Linked DNA regions of Homo sapiens: regions 2, 3 and 4 are each linked to region 1. The links are contacts of gene promoters, found by promoter capture Hi-C in blood cells and fetal thymus (Javierre and others, 2016). All regions are on one chromosome and are shown on one strand. Each heading gives the region's core, a stretch centred on a gene start or on the middle of the fragment in contact. The rest is flanking DNA. Distances are from core to core; before and after follow the strand shown. Region 1 holds the start of C9orf78 (chromosome 9 open reading frame 78). Region 2 overlaps GPR107 (G protein-coupled receptor 107). Region 3 overlaps FNBP1 (formin binding protein 1). Region 4 overlaps FNBP1 (formin binding protein 1).

What was found. The method cuts DNA at HindIII sites, captures the fragments that hold promoters and counts their contacts. A CHiCAGO score of 5 or more calls a contact.
Region 2: a fragment that was not itself captured here is called in contact with the fragment with the promoter of C9orf78 in region 1 in 12 of 17 cell types (total CD8 T cells, activated CD4 T cells, naive CD4 T cells and 9 more); the score reaches 10.4 in total CD8 T cells.
Region 3: a contact is called between a fragment that was not itself captured here and the fragment with the promoter of C9orf78 in region 1, in 4 of 17 cell types (total CD8 T cells, naive CD8 T cells, naive CD4 T cells and 1 more). The highest score is 7.2, in total CD8 T cells.
Region 4: a contact is called between a fragment that was not itself captured here and the fragment with the promoter of C9orf78 in region 1, in 2 of 17 cell types (total CD8 T cells and naive CD4 T cells). The highest score is 7.2, in total CD8 T cells.

Annotation. Positions count from the first base shown.
Region 1 is chr9:129,833,548-129,837,038 of GRCh38, forward strand. It overlaps C9orf78 (chromosome 9 open reading frame 78), which reads right to left and starts at 1,728. Exons shown (of 9, transcript NM_016520.3): 1 at 1,592-1,728; 2 at 1,160-1,219; 3 at 111-162. The coding sequence starts at 1,674. USP20 (ubiquitin specific peptidase 20) reads left to right here and starts at 1,911. Exons shown (of 26, transcript NM_001110303.4): 1 at 1,911-1,952. RefSeq lists silencers at 1,660-2,009, 2,040-2,189 and an enhancer at 2,161-2,661. The HindIII fragment of the contact is 4,419 bases long and covers 1-3,491 here.
Region 2 is chr9:130,077,227-130,080,717 of GRCh38, forward strand. It overlaps GPR107 (G protein-coupled receptor 107), which reads left to right. Exons shown (of 18, transcript NM_020960.5): 4 at 73-152; 5 at 2,404-2,543. Among named protein-coding and RNA genes, the nearest start is that of GPR107, 25 kb to the left of the region's middle. The HindIII fragment of the contact is 1,634 bases long and covers 1,150-2,783 here.
Region 3 is chr9:130,021,504-130,024,994 of GRCh38, forward strand. All of the region lies in intron 1 of FNBP1 (formin binding protein 1), which reads right to left. Among named protein-coding and RNA genes, the nearest start is that of FNBP1, 20 kb to the right of the region's middle. RefSeq lists an enhancer at 1,063-1,182 and a silencer at 2,518-2,668. The HindIII fragment of the contact is 1,477 bases long and covers 1,084-2,560 here.
Region 4 is chr9:129,988,953-129,992,443 of GRCh38, forward strand. The region is part of intron 2 of FNBP1 (formin binding protein 1); the gene reads right to left. Among named protein-coding and RNA genes, the nearest start is that of FNBP1, 52 kb to the right of the region's middle. RefSeq lists enhancers at 19-68, 3,186-3,235, 3,246-3,295 and a silencer at 818-1,112. The HindIII fragment of the contact is 5,563 bases long and covers 1-3,491 here.

The DNA of each region.
Region 1 (3,491 bases), core at 478-2,977:
CATCTAAATACATGGTAGTGGAATTTTTTTTTTTGTGAAGCACGCTCACTCACTGAAGAGCACTGCAGGGAGGGCTGCCATAACTACTCAGGGAAGACCCCATAACTTACCACTAGAGTGGTCTCCTCTTGTACCTTCTCTCCCACCAGCAAGGCCACAGCACTGAGCAAAACCAAAAAAAAAAGAGAGGGGGAGAGAGAGAAATGGCATAATTCAGAGATAAGGAGGAACCCTCTCAGGTATGCGGATTGCAACATTAGTGCAAGGGTGGGATTTGAGGGGTGGGTAGGCAAGCCGGCTGGAAAAGCCTATAAGCATAAGACAGGGCTCAACGAGCACCGCAGATGCTGGAAGAAGGGTGCGCTGGTGGTGAAGTGGTACACTTTGCCACTTTCCTGTAAAGCCATTTGGCATTATCTTGGCCTGGAAATCTCATTTCTAAGATATTCTCATCATGGAAAGTGCAGCTAAAGATAAATTTAAGAGAATATCCACTGCAGCCTTATTTGATAGTAAAAATTTACAAAATCACCTACATGTCCCAAAATAGGGGATTTGTTAACAAATTACAATACACACATCTGGTGGAATATTATGCAGCCATTAAGGCTTTCTGAAAAATATTCCACAATATGGGTGAATGCCCACAATGTCATAATGAGTTGAAAAGAACAGGGAATAAAAGTACATAGAAAGTTGTTCACAATCTGAGAGAGAGAGACGAAAAAAAACAGATTGGAAAGAGTATTCAATATTAATACCAGTGCATTCTTGGGTGGCTCTGCAAGGAAAAAAAATGTTAACACTGATCATTTCCGGATGGGAGAATTATGGGTGCTTTTTATCGTCTTGACTATACTTTTCTAAATTATACAAACTCTTAACGATCGATATGCATTTCACAATTAATTGGTTTTAATAAAAAACGCGAGTTAGTGATCTGTTTCTGTATCTCTGGAGCACACCCCGAGACGACACAGCTCAGGGCATGTCCTGGTTAAACATTTGCAAAGAACGCTGTTCTCCAAGTTGGGCAGTGGAAGGTGTACAGTGTGTCAAGAGAAAAATCTACGTCTGAGGAGATATTTGTGACAGCGACCCGGACGCGGATGTGTCTGTCGTCCCCGCCGCCTCCTCCTCCTCCCCGCGTGGTACCCACCTCACCCCGTTGGGCCTCTTCCTCAAGTTCTGTACCTCTCTGGTCTCTTCCAGTTTTAATCTTTAAAAAGAAGAAGAAGCAGCAATGCATAAGCTGAGTGATTCCCCGCGGAATCCAAAGCTAACAGAGCCAATAAGGCACCTTCGAGGGCATCCCAGCCCAGCTACTGAGCCACCAGCACAGTGGTCCAGAGGACGACCTTGTGCCTAGACCCACCGGGAGTCAGAGCCACTGCGCATCCCGGAGGCATCTCTCTCAACCGTTCGAGCTTGGGGCGGTGGCCTCACCCCTTGAGCCTCAATTTCTGCGTCCGCAGAAGGAACCACCACCCGAGCTCACAGTTAACAATGTCAGCGAAGCGCCGAGCCGGTGGTGAGTCCCCCAAACAAGTCTATCTTTACCAAGCCTATGGGAGCCCCGCCCCAAACGCACCGAACCTCCTCTGAGTCCTGCTCATCTTCCTCTGACTCCGAGTCGCCCCGGCGGCGACGGAAAATCTTCCGGACGACCGGCATGGTGACAACGGCCGAGTTGTACAGCCGCCGCGCCTCTGCGCAGCGGCCCAGGCTGCTTCCGGCGCGCGGCAGAGCGGTCAGAGCGCCTGCCCCGTCTGGCCCCGCCCCCGGCACGCACAGTCCGCGTGGCCACGCCCCCTCTCCTGGCGTCAGCCTCTTCCGATTGGACGGCAGAGGGAAGGAGGTGGGGCGTCGCCAGACGGCCCCACAACCCTGCGCGTCGCCTCAGAGGGGGCGCGCTTGACTGACAGGCGGCGGCGGCGCAGTTGCGAGTGCAGGTGAGTTCCGGGCCGCCACCGGCTGCTTCTGTGGGCCGGGCCTCTGAGCATTGGCGACCCCAGCCCGGCTCCGGGCTGACAGGGCCTGGCTTCGCCAGGTACGCCAGACGCAGCGGCCCGGTGAGCGGAGCCCGGGACCCCCCCGGCCGCCGCCGCCCCTCTCCCCTCCTCCGGTCGGCGCCCAGGGGGGCCTCTGGGCCCCAGCACCACCCCACTCTGAGCTCCCTGGGGGCTCGTGGCTTCTCCAGAACCGGGGCCGCCCCCCTCTCATTTCTGCCGGGGCCTGACCTAGCGTTGAAAGCATCCGCGTGGCGTCTCGCGTCTCGGGCGCTGACTTTTCTTTCCTCGGGCTCTGAGCCCTGACGTGCGTTTTTTTCTTTCGGAACAAAAGATGACCACTTCTCTGCGGTGCTGACTTAGAGTCCCAGCGCCGACTGCCTCACAAATAATGGCCCCCAGCTTCTCCGCGAGGAGAGGCGCGTCTGATGTTTTGAAGCCACGCAAGAGGGTTTGAGCCGGGGGACTCCTCCTCGGTGCTTGCCGGCCACCCCCCTGGACCTTCACGGGTCTGGTTTTCCTCCTTCGGCAGGTCTGTCGCTCTACCCTCTGCCCCTTCCACCCCGAAGATGCTGTGAGGATAAAGTTTATTTGAAAAACTGGTATCAGCAAACGCTTAGGAAATACCTAAATGCATAAATAATGGCTTCTAGGACTTTTAAGAACCCCTTAAGTAACAGTAGTTTTCCTTTTCTCAGTGTCATCCCTTACTTTGAGAACTACCTCTTATTAAGCAGTTACTATGTGGCAGGCCCTGGGCAAAGCATCATCTCATTGAATTCTCCCAGCAATCCTTTGAGGTAGATTGTTTTTCGTTTTACAAATGAGAATGCGGAGTCTCCGAGGGGCAGTGCACGCCTCAAGTTACCCAGCTAGGAGGTGGAACAGGAATTGGTTGCAGGTCAGTCTCTGCCGCACGGTTTGCACAGGGCCTGGCACGGTAGGAGTGCAGTAGATGTTTGCTGCTGCTGCAGCTGCTGTTACATCTCATTGGCTAGGGGGAGGGGCCGATGGGGGCTGTCTGGGGTTCCCCTTTCTGGAAGACCATTCCGAAGCAGGGCAGCATTTCTAGAATGCCTTACGTTTTCTCTGGAACAGTCTCCACTGAGATTGTTCTTCTCTTCCTTGGGCTGGAAAAAATAGTAGACTCGGGACTTCTTGCACCAGCGTTTTATCTTTGGTCAAAAGCCATATATTAAAGTCTCAAAGTCTTGCCCTCTGCAGACTGGTTCAGCCAAACCCAGATGCACGTGCACTCACTGGATACGGAGTCCCTGTCAGATGATGGAGAGGCTCCTTGGGAATTGCTGCAGGAGTCCAGGGGGTCAACGTCTGCAGCTCTCACGCTCTCAGAGGTGGCTCTGAATCTGCCCATCAAGCAGCCCATCCACCAGGGGGTACTGGACACTACTAAGGAAAGGGCAAGAAGGCCAGGGGCATTTCTGGACCCTCCTCCTCAGCTGAAGTCCCAGGGTACAGATG
Region 2 (3,491 bases), core at 717-3,216, 240 kb after region 1:
GTTCCTGAAAACTCTGTTCTTGTTCTAGTGTGAATGAATAAGATGATGTACAATTGGCTCTTCCTTTCTCAGGATGAAGATGTGAATTACTGTATTTTAAAGAAACAGTCTGTCTCTGTCACCCTTTTAATCCTAGACATCTCCAGAAGTGAGTAAGTAATTCTAAAGTTCCTTCAGTTCAGTCCTAGAGTAGAGTCGGGGAGAATTTAGTAGTATGCTAACATTCCTTGGGTGTCTGCCATGTGCCAGAGACCGTGCTGAGTGCTGGAGATTCAAGACAAGGCTAGGGAGACAGAGGTCCTGTCCTTGATGGGAGAGACAGAACGGAAATACACATGATCACCGCCAAACAGAGAAGTGGAAGGGAAGAACTCATGAATTGTAGAAAGGAAGGAGAGGCTTCAGATAAGTGTTGGCCCAAGCAGCTTTCTAGTGAGTAGCCTTTTACCAGATGAATAAGTAAAGCATTCCAGGCAGAGGGCATAGTCTATGCAAAGGCAGAGTGGAAACAAGACTGGGTCCACGTAATGGCTTCTGCCACTCACCAGCCCTGTGACTCCGGGCCTCAGTGTCCTTACCTACTTCGTGATGATGGTATCTGCCTCATGAGATTGTTGGTGAGGATTTCTGACAATTCAGCCTCTTTGAAAATGTTGAGGCCGGGCATGGTGGCTCATGCCTGTAATCCCAGCCCTTTGGGAGGCCGAGGCGGACGGATCACGAGGTCAGGAGATTGAGACCATCCTGGCTAAAACAGTGAAACCCCGTCTCTACTAAAAATACAAAAAATTAGCCGGGCGTGGTGGTGGGCGCCTGTAGTCCCAGCTATTCGGGAGGCTGAGACAGGAGAATGGTGTGAACCCAGGAGGCGGAGCTTGCGGTGAGCCGAGATCGCGCCACTGCACTCCAGCCTGGGTGAGAGAGTGAGACTCCGTCTCAAAAAAAAAAAAAAAATGTTGAACTTTGATGAATTATCAGACTTTGTGTTTTCAAGTTCAGCATACTTCCAACTGCGTACTTTGTAATTGCTGAGGGAGCCTTTAAGGTAGGAATCATGTGCTCAGACTTGCCTGTAAGGTAGACTCCTAGCAGCCCAGAAGAGGATGGATTTGAGATGAACAAGACTGGAGGTAAGAAGACTAATGAATAAGCTTCTAAAAAAAAAATGCTTTGTCATAAAACCATTGTAGACCCTAACTTTTAAAATATTCTCCGTGATAACCTCTGTTTTCATTTAAGAAGATTGATCTGACAGTCTCCTGTATTGGTCAGTCTACTTTTGGAAGCAAGCAACAAAAGACTTGACTTAGACTCTGGCGTGAATAGTGAAGACATTGATTACCTCACCTATGTGCAGTGGGGCAGGCGAGAGACAGGCCTGCGGTGGCTTGCTGATGTTAGGGACTCTGGTGCATTTCATCTTTCTGCTCTGCCATCCTGAGTGTTAGCTTCTTCCTCAGGCAGGTTTCCCAGCCATCACAAGGTGGCTCTGCTCCATCATTCATATCCAGCCAAGGGACAGAGAGCAGGCTCCTCCTCCAGGTAGAATGAGAAGTGCTTGAATGTGCCAGCTTAGGTTGGGCATCCACTCAGTCATGGGAACTGTCACTGGCCCCTCCTGGGTGGGATGGGGTAAACAAAATTGGGTCTCATGAGAAGGGGGAAGGGTGGAAATGGATATTAGGAGGCAACTAACAGTGCCACTGCCCTCTCGTGCTTCCCTGGATTTCACTTGCTTTCTTTATTTTTTGAGACGGGGTCTCGCTCTGTGGCCCAGGCTGGAGTGCAGTGGCACGATCTTGGCTCATTGCATCCTCCACCTCCCAGGTTCAAGCGATTCTCCTGCCTTAGCCTCCCAAGTAGCTGGGATTACAGGTGCATGCCAACACACCCGGCCAGTTTTTTTTTGTAATTTTAGTAGAGACAGGGTTTTGCCATGTTGGCCAGGCTGTTCCTGAATTCCTGACCTCAAGTGATCCACCCGCCTCAGCCTCCCAAAGTGCTGAGATTACAGGCGTGAGCCACCATGCCTGGCCTGGATTTCACTTTAAAGTCTTACTGATGTTTTACATTTTGTCCGTTTCTCTTGTGCACCAATTTGCTGAGCATTTTAACGATACTTAAGGAGAAAGATGTACCTCAGAATTGTGTGGTTACTAAGATCTTAGGCTTAAGAGAGACTACCTGGATCCTCGTCCAACTACTTCCTAGCTTGGTGCCCTTGGGCAAGTTATTTAACGTTTCTGAGCCTCAGTTTTGGTATCTGTAGAATGTGGATAATAGAATCTACATTGTAGAACATGATAAGGACTGCATGAGCTTGGCACAGGGCCTACACGCAGCGTGCTCAGTGGCCAGGAGCACTGCTTTGACCTTTTTTCCTTCTGTCTTATTTGAATGTAGGGTAAGAGTAAAGTCTCCACCAGAAGCTGGTACCCAGTTACCAAAGATCATCTTCAGCAGGGATGAGAAAGTCCTTGGTCAGAGCCAGGAGCCTAATGTTAACCCTGCTTCAGCAGGCAACCAGACCCAGAAGACACAAGGTAAACCGTAAGGTGGAAACTGGCTTTCAGTTTTCACTACCTGCTTTGTAGCTTTTTTGTTCCTAATTAAAAGTAAAAGTAAAACATGATCTGTTGTCGTCTTAGCATTATATTTTGGAAGTTACACAAAAATACGTAAATGTTAAAGAAAAATGTGGAAAATCTGAAGCAGATGGAAAAACAACAGTCATTTCTCCTTATTCCCAGTGTTAGAATTTTAGTAATTTATGTTTTCTTATAAGCTTGTTTCATAAGTCTAGAACATTTGATTTTTAAAATTCAGTCATGCTTATAATTTTATATACATGCCTGATTACTTTTTAGCCCATTTCATACCTATCATATATCCTGTTAAGCAGATACTGTAATTTGCTCAACCTTTCCCCTTAAGGAGACACATTTCCATTTTTGTGTGATTATGAATATTGCTGCAGTGGACTTCTTTATGCATAGAACTGTCTTCGTATAGCGAACGTTCTTTAAGATGGTTTTCAGAATTGCAATTTCTGGTTCAAAGGATATGAATGCATTTGAGAATATTGATGTATATTTTTAAATTCCTTTCCAAATGAGTTGTGTGGATTTATATTCTTATCAGAAATATGTAGGAATAGTGGGCACATTATCATGTCCTAGCCAATATGGGGTATTTTCTTTTCAAAAAACAAAATCCTAAAATGAAAGGCAAAAAAGGTATTCCTGTTTATTTATTTATTTATTTATTTATTTATTTATTTTTTGAGACGGAGTCTCGCTCTGTCGCCCAGGCTGGAGTACAGTGGCGCAATCTCGGCTCACTGCAAGCTCCGCCTCCCGGGTTCACGCCATTCTCCTGCCTCAGCCTCCCAAGTAGCTGGGACTACAGGCGCCCGCCACCATGCCCGGCTAATTTTTTGTATTTTTAGTAGAGACAGGGTTTCACGGTGTTAGCTAGGATGGTCTCGATCT
Region 3 (3,491 bases), core at 572-3,071, 190 kb after region 1:
TTTTAGTAGATAGCTTAATGACTGATTTGGTGGAAATTACTTTGCAGAAATAACAATTTCCAATTAATTATTTGAATTTAGTTTAATGTTGTGGGTGTATTTTAAAATAGCACCTAATATACTCTCATTACCTGTTTTGCAACAGGGAGTAAGTACACAGACAATCATTAAGGAGACTTCAAAAAAAAACACAGCAATCTTTCATTACTCAGGAGAAAATTTATAGATCCCGCTGAACCGTTAAAGATCAATTGTTTTATACAGCATTTGCATTGGCTTTTAAATTTCCAAACACCAAGGAGTGTCCATCCCAAATTAGCCCTTTGTCGTCTAAGAGATAGCTAAGATGCCCAGTACTAACCTGTTGTTTTTTCCTGAAACAAGGTCTTGCTCTGTTGCCCAGGCTGGAGTGTAGTGGTGCTATCTTGGCTCACTACAGCCTTGACCTCCTGGGCTCAGGTGATCCTCCCACCTAAGCCTCCCAAGTAGCTGGGACCACAGGTGCAGGCTACCATGCCTGGCTAACTTGTATTTTTGTAGAGACAAGGTCTCACCATGTTGGCCAGGCTGGTCTCAAACTCCTGGGCTCAAGTGATCCACCCGCCTCAGCCTCCCAAAGTGCTAGGATTACAGGCGTGAGCCATTGCACCCAGCCTCTTTCTCTTCTTTTTAATTTGAGGTGAAATTCATCTAACATAAAATTAACTTTTTTTTTTTTTTGAGACGGAGTCTCACTCTATCACCAGGCTGGAGTGTAGTGGCGCGATCTCAGCTCACTGCAATGTCTGCCTCCTGGGTTCAAGCAATTCTCCTGCCTCAGCCTCCTGAGTAGCTGGGATTACAGGCACGCGCCAAGATGCCCGGTTAATTTTTTTGTATTTTTAGTAGAGATAGGGTTTCACCATGTTGGCCAGGCTGGTCTTGAACTCCTGACCTCAGGTGATCCACCCACCTCGGCCTTCCGAAGTGCTGGGATTACAGGGGTAAGCCACCGTGCCCGACCTTAAGAATACAGTTAAGAATACTGTTTGGTATACTAAGCAGGCATATTTTACATAGTTACAAGTAGAAAATGAGTTACAAAGCTTTGGGTTCAAAGTATAGAACATCAACACTTTGTCTTAATATCCTCAATAAAAATTTCACACAAATACCAACACTCGCTCTTTTTTTTTTTGAGACAGGGTTTCACTCTGTGGCCTGGTGTGCAGTATGCTGGTGTGCAGTGGCTCAATCACCGCTCACTGCCGCCTTGATCTCCTCAGGCTCGGGTGATCATCCCACCTCACCCTCCCAAGTACCTAGGACTACAGGTGTGCGTTAGCACGCCCAACTAATTTTTGTTTTTGTTTTGATAGAGACAGGGGTTGGCCGTGTTGCCCAGTGTAATCCCAGCACTTCAGGAGGCTGAGGCAGGAGGACTGCTTGAGGCCAGGAGTTTGAGACTAGCCTGGGCAACAAAGCAAGACCCTGTCAAAAAACAAAAACAAAAAACAGAAGAAGGATTAATAGTTACATTAAGAAGAATGAGGCGGCTAAGGAAAAGAAACCCCCACCAAGATATTATAAGTGGTAAAAGGTACCAAAAAGTGTGACTAGTATGCTAACATTTGTAAGGGAGGGGGGAATTTACTCATAAATGCTTGATAGCTCTCTGGAAGAATTCACAAGAAACCAGTTATGGTGGTTGCCTCCAGGGAAGAAAAAAAAAAATCCCCTAATGACTGGGGCAGTCACACACCAGGTGTGGCCTATTCAAAAATACATAAACAAGTAAGAAATAAATCATGCTTTTAAAATCTGGCTTTTCCCCCAATTCCCCTTCTTTAACAGAGTGTATTCAATCTTGGCTGAACCCTCAGAGCTCACTGGCGTGTGTAACTGACTTTAGAGAGAGCCAGGAGGTCGGGATTGCACACAATAGGGTTAGCTGAAGGTGAAGCACCTAGGGCTAGAGACTTCCCCGGCCAAGGGCAAGGCAGAGCTGGGATAAAGGAGTTCAAAGCCCTGAGGTGGAAGAAGGCTGGTGCATATAAAGAAGGAGAAGGCAGCCTGGCCGGAGGAGACTGTGTTGCAAGAGGGACCAGCAACATAAAAGGATTGTCTAAATTTAGCTTTACTTGGAGTTGGGAAGTCCTTGTTGGGTTTCTGCTCAGATCTGAGCCCCACTCACTCCATGTTAGGTGATCTGGGTTCCTAAGTGTTCTCCCAACAGTACCCTCTCGGTGATGCCTACAGGATCCCATGGAAACGTCATCCTTTTATCGTGAGCATTTGGCATCTTACTCAGTTTCCCTGGACTCAATCTTCCATCCACGTGAGTGTATCCTACATTTCCCTCTAGTCTTTTTTCCTTTCCTTTCTTTACTTTTGCCCCATGTCCCTAGGACTGGCCCACAATTCAGACTGGTTACCAAGTACCTAGTGTATAAAATAGTACCCTTTACTCTCCCTGTGAGCTGCCTTGCCTGATCTCGGCCACATCTGAAGAATCAACATACATATAACCTTTAGGTTGGCTTACATTTGCCGTCATTTAACCCCCAGGTCCCTCACCCCAAGCTTGTGAGCTGGGTGGGGTCCATACTACAAGCAAATATTATCTAAATAAACAGAACTTGGCCAGGCTCAGTGGCTCATGCCTGTAAGTAATCCCAACACTTTGGGAGGCTGAGGCAGGAGGATCACTTGAGGCCAGGAGTTCAAGGCTAGCCTGGGCAACATAGTGAGATCCTATCTCTACCCCCCCCAAAAAAACAGGAAATAATAATAAATAAGAAATTTACAAAATTAAAAAATTAGCTGGGCGTGGTAGTGTGCACCTGAGTCTTAGCTACTGGGGAGGCTGAAGTGGGAGGATGGCTTGAGGCCAGGAGGTTGAGGCTGCAGTGAGCTCTGACAGTGCCTGGGTGACAGAGCAAGACCCTGCCTGTCTCAGACTATTGCACATTGGTGACACGTAATTGAACACTGCTAATGGAGAGTATCTGTTGCCCACTCATGCAACTAACATTTTACATTTTCAATTTTTCTCTAACAATCCAATGCCAATTTCTAGATCTGCTTGAAGTTATCAGAAAGTCTTTATCCCACCCAACTACTTCCAACTTCTCTCTAGGGTTTTCTTCCATCTCTAATGACTGTTCATTCCGCTTTCTCAATTACTGGCATTTCATAATCCAAGGAAAGTGAGAAAGTGAAGGAAGAAGCCATCGTATCATCCTGTTTTTCATTTCCATCAGGTGGTTGAATCTTTTTGGCAAATAAAGCACTTGACTGCCTAAAATTTTTCTGCAATGACATTGTTTATCTACCTTACTCACTTGCTGATCTGCCAAACTGACAAAATAAACAATAAACCTTAGCCAAAAGGTTTCTGTTCAGCAAACTACTCCCTGATGCCAGGCGGCTCACGCTTGTAATCCCAGCACTTTGGGAGGCCGAGGTGGGTGAATCACCTGAGGTCAGGAGTTTGAGACCAGCCTGGCCAA
Region 4 (3,491 bases), core at 398-2,897, 160 kb after region 1:
CACAATGATTTTTCAACATCATATTACTATTTCAACCAAGTATCTGTTGAATATTCTGTAGCCACACTGGCCTTTCTATTCCTTCTACATGTTCCCGTCTCAGGACCTTTGCACTCTCTCCCCCCACATCCTTACATGTCTGGCTTCTTTTTGTAATTCACTTCTCAAGTGATGGGTTTTCCCTGACCAGCCTAGCTCAGTAACCACCCCCACTTCAATCTCTATCACATCACTGCGTTTACATATTTGGAGTCATACATGCTATCTTTAAATGCTCGAATTCTTTGCTAATTTGCATGCAGTTCTGTTTTCTGCTGTGAAAGGTGAGCACTCCAGGTTCAGGCACTTCCTGTGTCTCGTTCATTCAAGCATCCCTAGTGATTGAAACTCGGCTGGCACCTTGTTGTTCTACTTTTTGTTGTTAAAATCTCATCAGCTCTCACAGGCCGGTGCAAACACATAATTCCCCATAAAGCAAAGCTGGCTAAATATCTTAGGCCTGTACCCTACCGATTCACTCACAATCTACAAATATTTACTGGGCACCTACTATGTGCCAGGCACTGTTCTGCACTATGACACATTAGTGAGCACAACCCAAAGATCTCCACCCTTAAGGGGCTTGCATTCTAGCTGAGAGGCTGCAGGAGACAATGCGCAGTAAATATAATACCCAGATTTCTCTGGGAAGGTTTGGGGAGATGTTATTCAAATGAGGCAAAATTGTAGGAGAAATAAGTTCAAGAGATCTATTGTACAACATTGTGTCTCCAGTTAATAACAATGTATTGTATACTTGAAAATTGCCAGGCCGGGTGCTCACACCTGTAATCCCAGCACTTTGGGAGGCCTCGGTCAGAGGATCGCTTGAACCTAGAAGTTCAAGACCAGCATGGGCAACATGGTGAAATTCTGTCTCTGCAAAAGATACAAAAATTAGCCGGGTGTGGCAGCGCATTCCTGTGGTCCCAGCTACTTGGGAGGCTGTGGTGGGAGGTTCACTTGAGCCCGGGAGGTGAGCCAAGATCGTGCCACTGCACTCCACCCAGGGTGACAGAGTGAGACCCTGTCTCAAGAAAGAGGGAAGGGGAGGGGAGGGGAGGGGTTGCTAAATTGCTAGAAGAGTAGATTTTAATGTTCTTCCCACAAAAAAAATATTAAGTTTGAGTAGTAATGCATATGTTAATTAGCCTGATTTGGGCATTCTGCAGCGTATACATATTTCAAGACATCATGTATACCATAAATATATACAATTTTATATACAAATAATATAGAAATACATATTTTGTCAATTTTCAAAACTAAACAAGAAAACTATATAAAATGGTAGAAAGTTACCAGTAATATAGGAAAACTGAAAAAGCAAAGCAGGCTAAGTGGGCTAAGGGACGAGGTGGGCCTCACTGAGCAGAAACTGGAAGCAGGAGAGGGAGTCAGCCACTTGGAGCCTGGGGAAGAACACATAGGTGATATCTACATGGAAGGGCTAGCGCAATAGCTCTCGGGTGAGGGGATGCCTGGCATGTACAAAAAACAGGAAGGAGGCCTCTGTATGGTTACAGCAGAGAGGAGGAGGAAGAGAGTTAAAACAGATGATGTCAGAAAGGTGTGGGAACCAGATTATACAAGGTTTTGGAGGACTTTCACCGTAAGGTTTTTGGATTTACTCTGAATGAAATGGGGACGCACTGGAATTTTGAACAGAGGAATACTGTAATCTGGCTGCTCTGTAGAAATCAGGGAATAGGGGATAGAGGTAGAATAAGGGAAACTAGTTAGTAGACTCATCATAACCAGGCAAAAGATCATGGACCACGTAGGCCATGTGACATGGACCACAGTGGCAGCAGTGGAGGTGATAACAAGTGTCAGATCCTGGATAAATCTGTAGAGAAGTCAAGATTTCCTGATGGCTTGAGCTGGGGAGTGTGAGTGTGTGAGAAAAGAAGGCAGACAGAGATGATGATGACACCAGGGTTTTTTTTTTTTTTTTTTTGAGATGGAGTCTTGCTCTGTCACCCAGGCTGGAGTGCAGTGGCACAATCTCAGCTTACTGCAACTTCTGCCTCCTGGGTTCAAGGGATTCTCCTGCCTTAGCCTCCTGAGTAGGTAGGATTACAGGCGCCCACCACCACGCCTGGCTAATGTTTTTGTATTTTTAGTAGAGACAGGGTTTCACCATGTTAGTCAGCTGGTCTTGAACTCTTGACCTCCAGTGATCCCCCTGCACCTGGGTGATGCTAGGGTTTTTGACCTAAACCAGGAAGGATGCAGCTACCCTCAGGTGAGTGGAGGAAAATCTAGGTCGTGGAAATGCAGATTTTTTTTTTTTTTGAGATAGGGTCTTGCTCTGTTGCCCAGGCTGGAGTGCAGTAGTGCAATCATGGCTCACTGCAGCCCCAGCGTCTTGGGCTCAAGCATCCGCCCTCCTCAGCCTCTCAAGTAGCTGGGACTACAGGTGTGCGCCACCATGCCTGGCTAATTTTTTAAAATTCTTTTTAGAGGCAGGGTCTCGCTATGTTGCTCAGGCTGGCCTCCAACTCCTGGGCTCAAGTACCCACCTCGGCCTCCTGAAGTGCTAAGATTTTAGGTGTGAGCCACTTCACTTGGCCTAGACATGTGGATTTTTAAGTTGGGGAGATCCGGAGTTCAGTTTCAGACATGTTACATTTCAGATCATTTCAGATGGTTTTTAGACATTTCCTTTTTTTTTTTTTTCTTTGAGATGGCGTCTCACTCTGTCGCCCAGGCTGGAGTGCAGTGGTGTGATCTTGGCTCACGGCAAGCTCTGCCTTCTGGGTTCATGCCATTCTCCTGCCTCAGCCTCCCAAGTAGCTGGGACTACAGGCGCCCGCCACCATTTCCAGCTAATTTTTTGTATTTTTAGTACAGATGGGGTTTCACCGTGTTAGCCAGGATGGTCTCGATCTCCTGACTTCGTGATCCGCCCGCCTCAGCCTCCCAAAGTGCTGGGATTACAGGCATAAGCCACCGCGCCCAGCCAAGTTTTTAGACATTTCTAAGTGGAGACTTTGAGCAAGCTGTTTCTGGAATTCAGGAGAGAGGTCTGGCTTAGAGATCCATATCTGTGAGTCATTGCCATATGGATTATACCTAAAGCCATGAGACAGTTGAGGTCACCAGGAGAGTACAGACTGGGAAGGGAGAAGGACTGAGAAGCAGATGCTGGGCACAGCAATGTGAAGAGGCAGGGGAAGAGCAGGGGCCAGCAAGGGAGACTGTCGTGGGAAGAATACCAGTAGCCCGCTTGAGAGCTCGCACGTAGCCCATTTTCACATGAAAGACAACATTGCATGACTAATAGTGCAGCATTCAAATAATCAACGTGAAACAGACCATGTTCTATTCCTACTTTCAGTTCGAAAAGCCCCTGACGTGTTGACGAGACTGATATGCACACAGGGCACTAGAAACTGATCTGGATTCTCCACTTATAAAAATTATTTCATTGTGTGATGTTTTACATG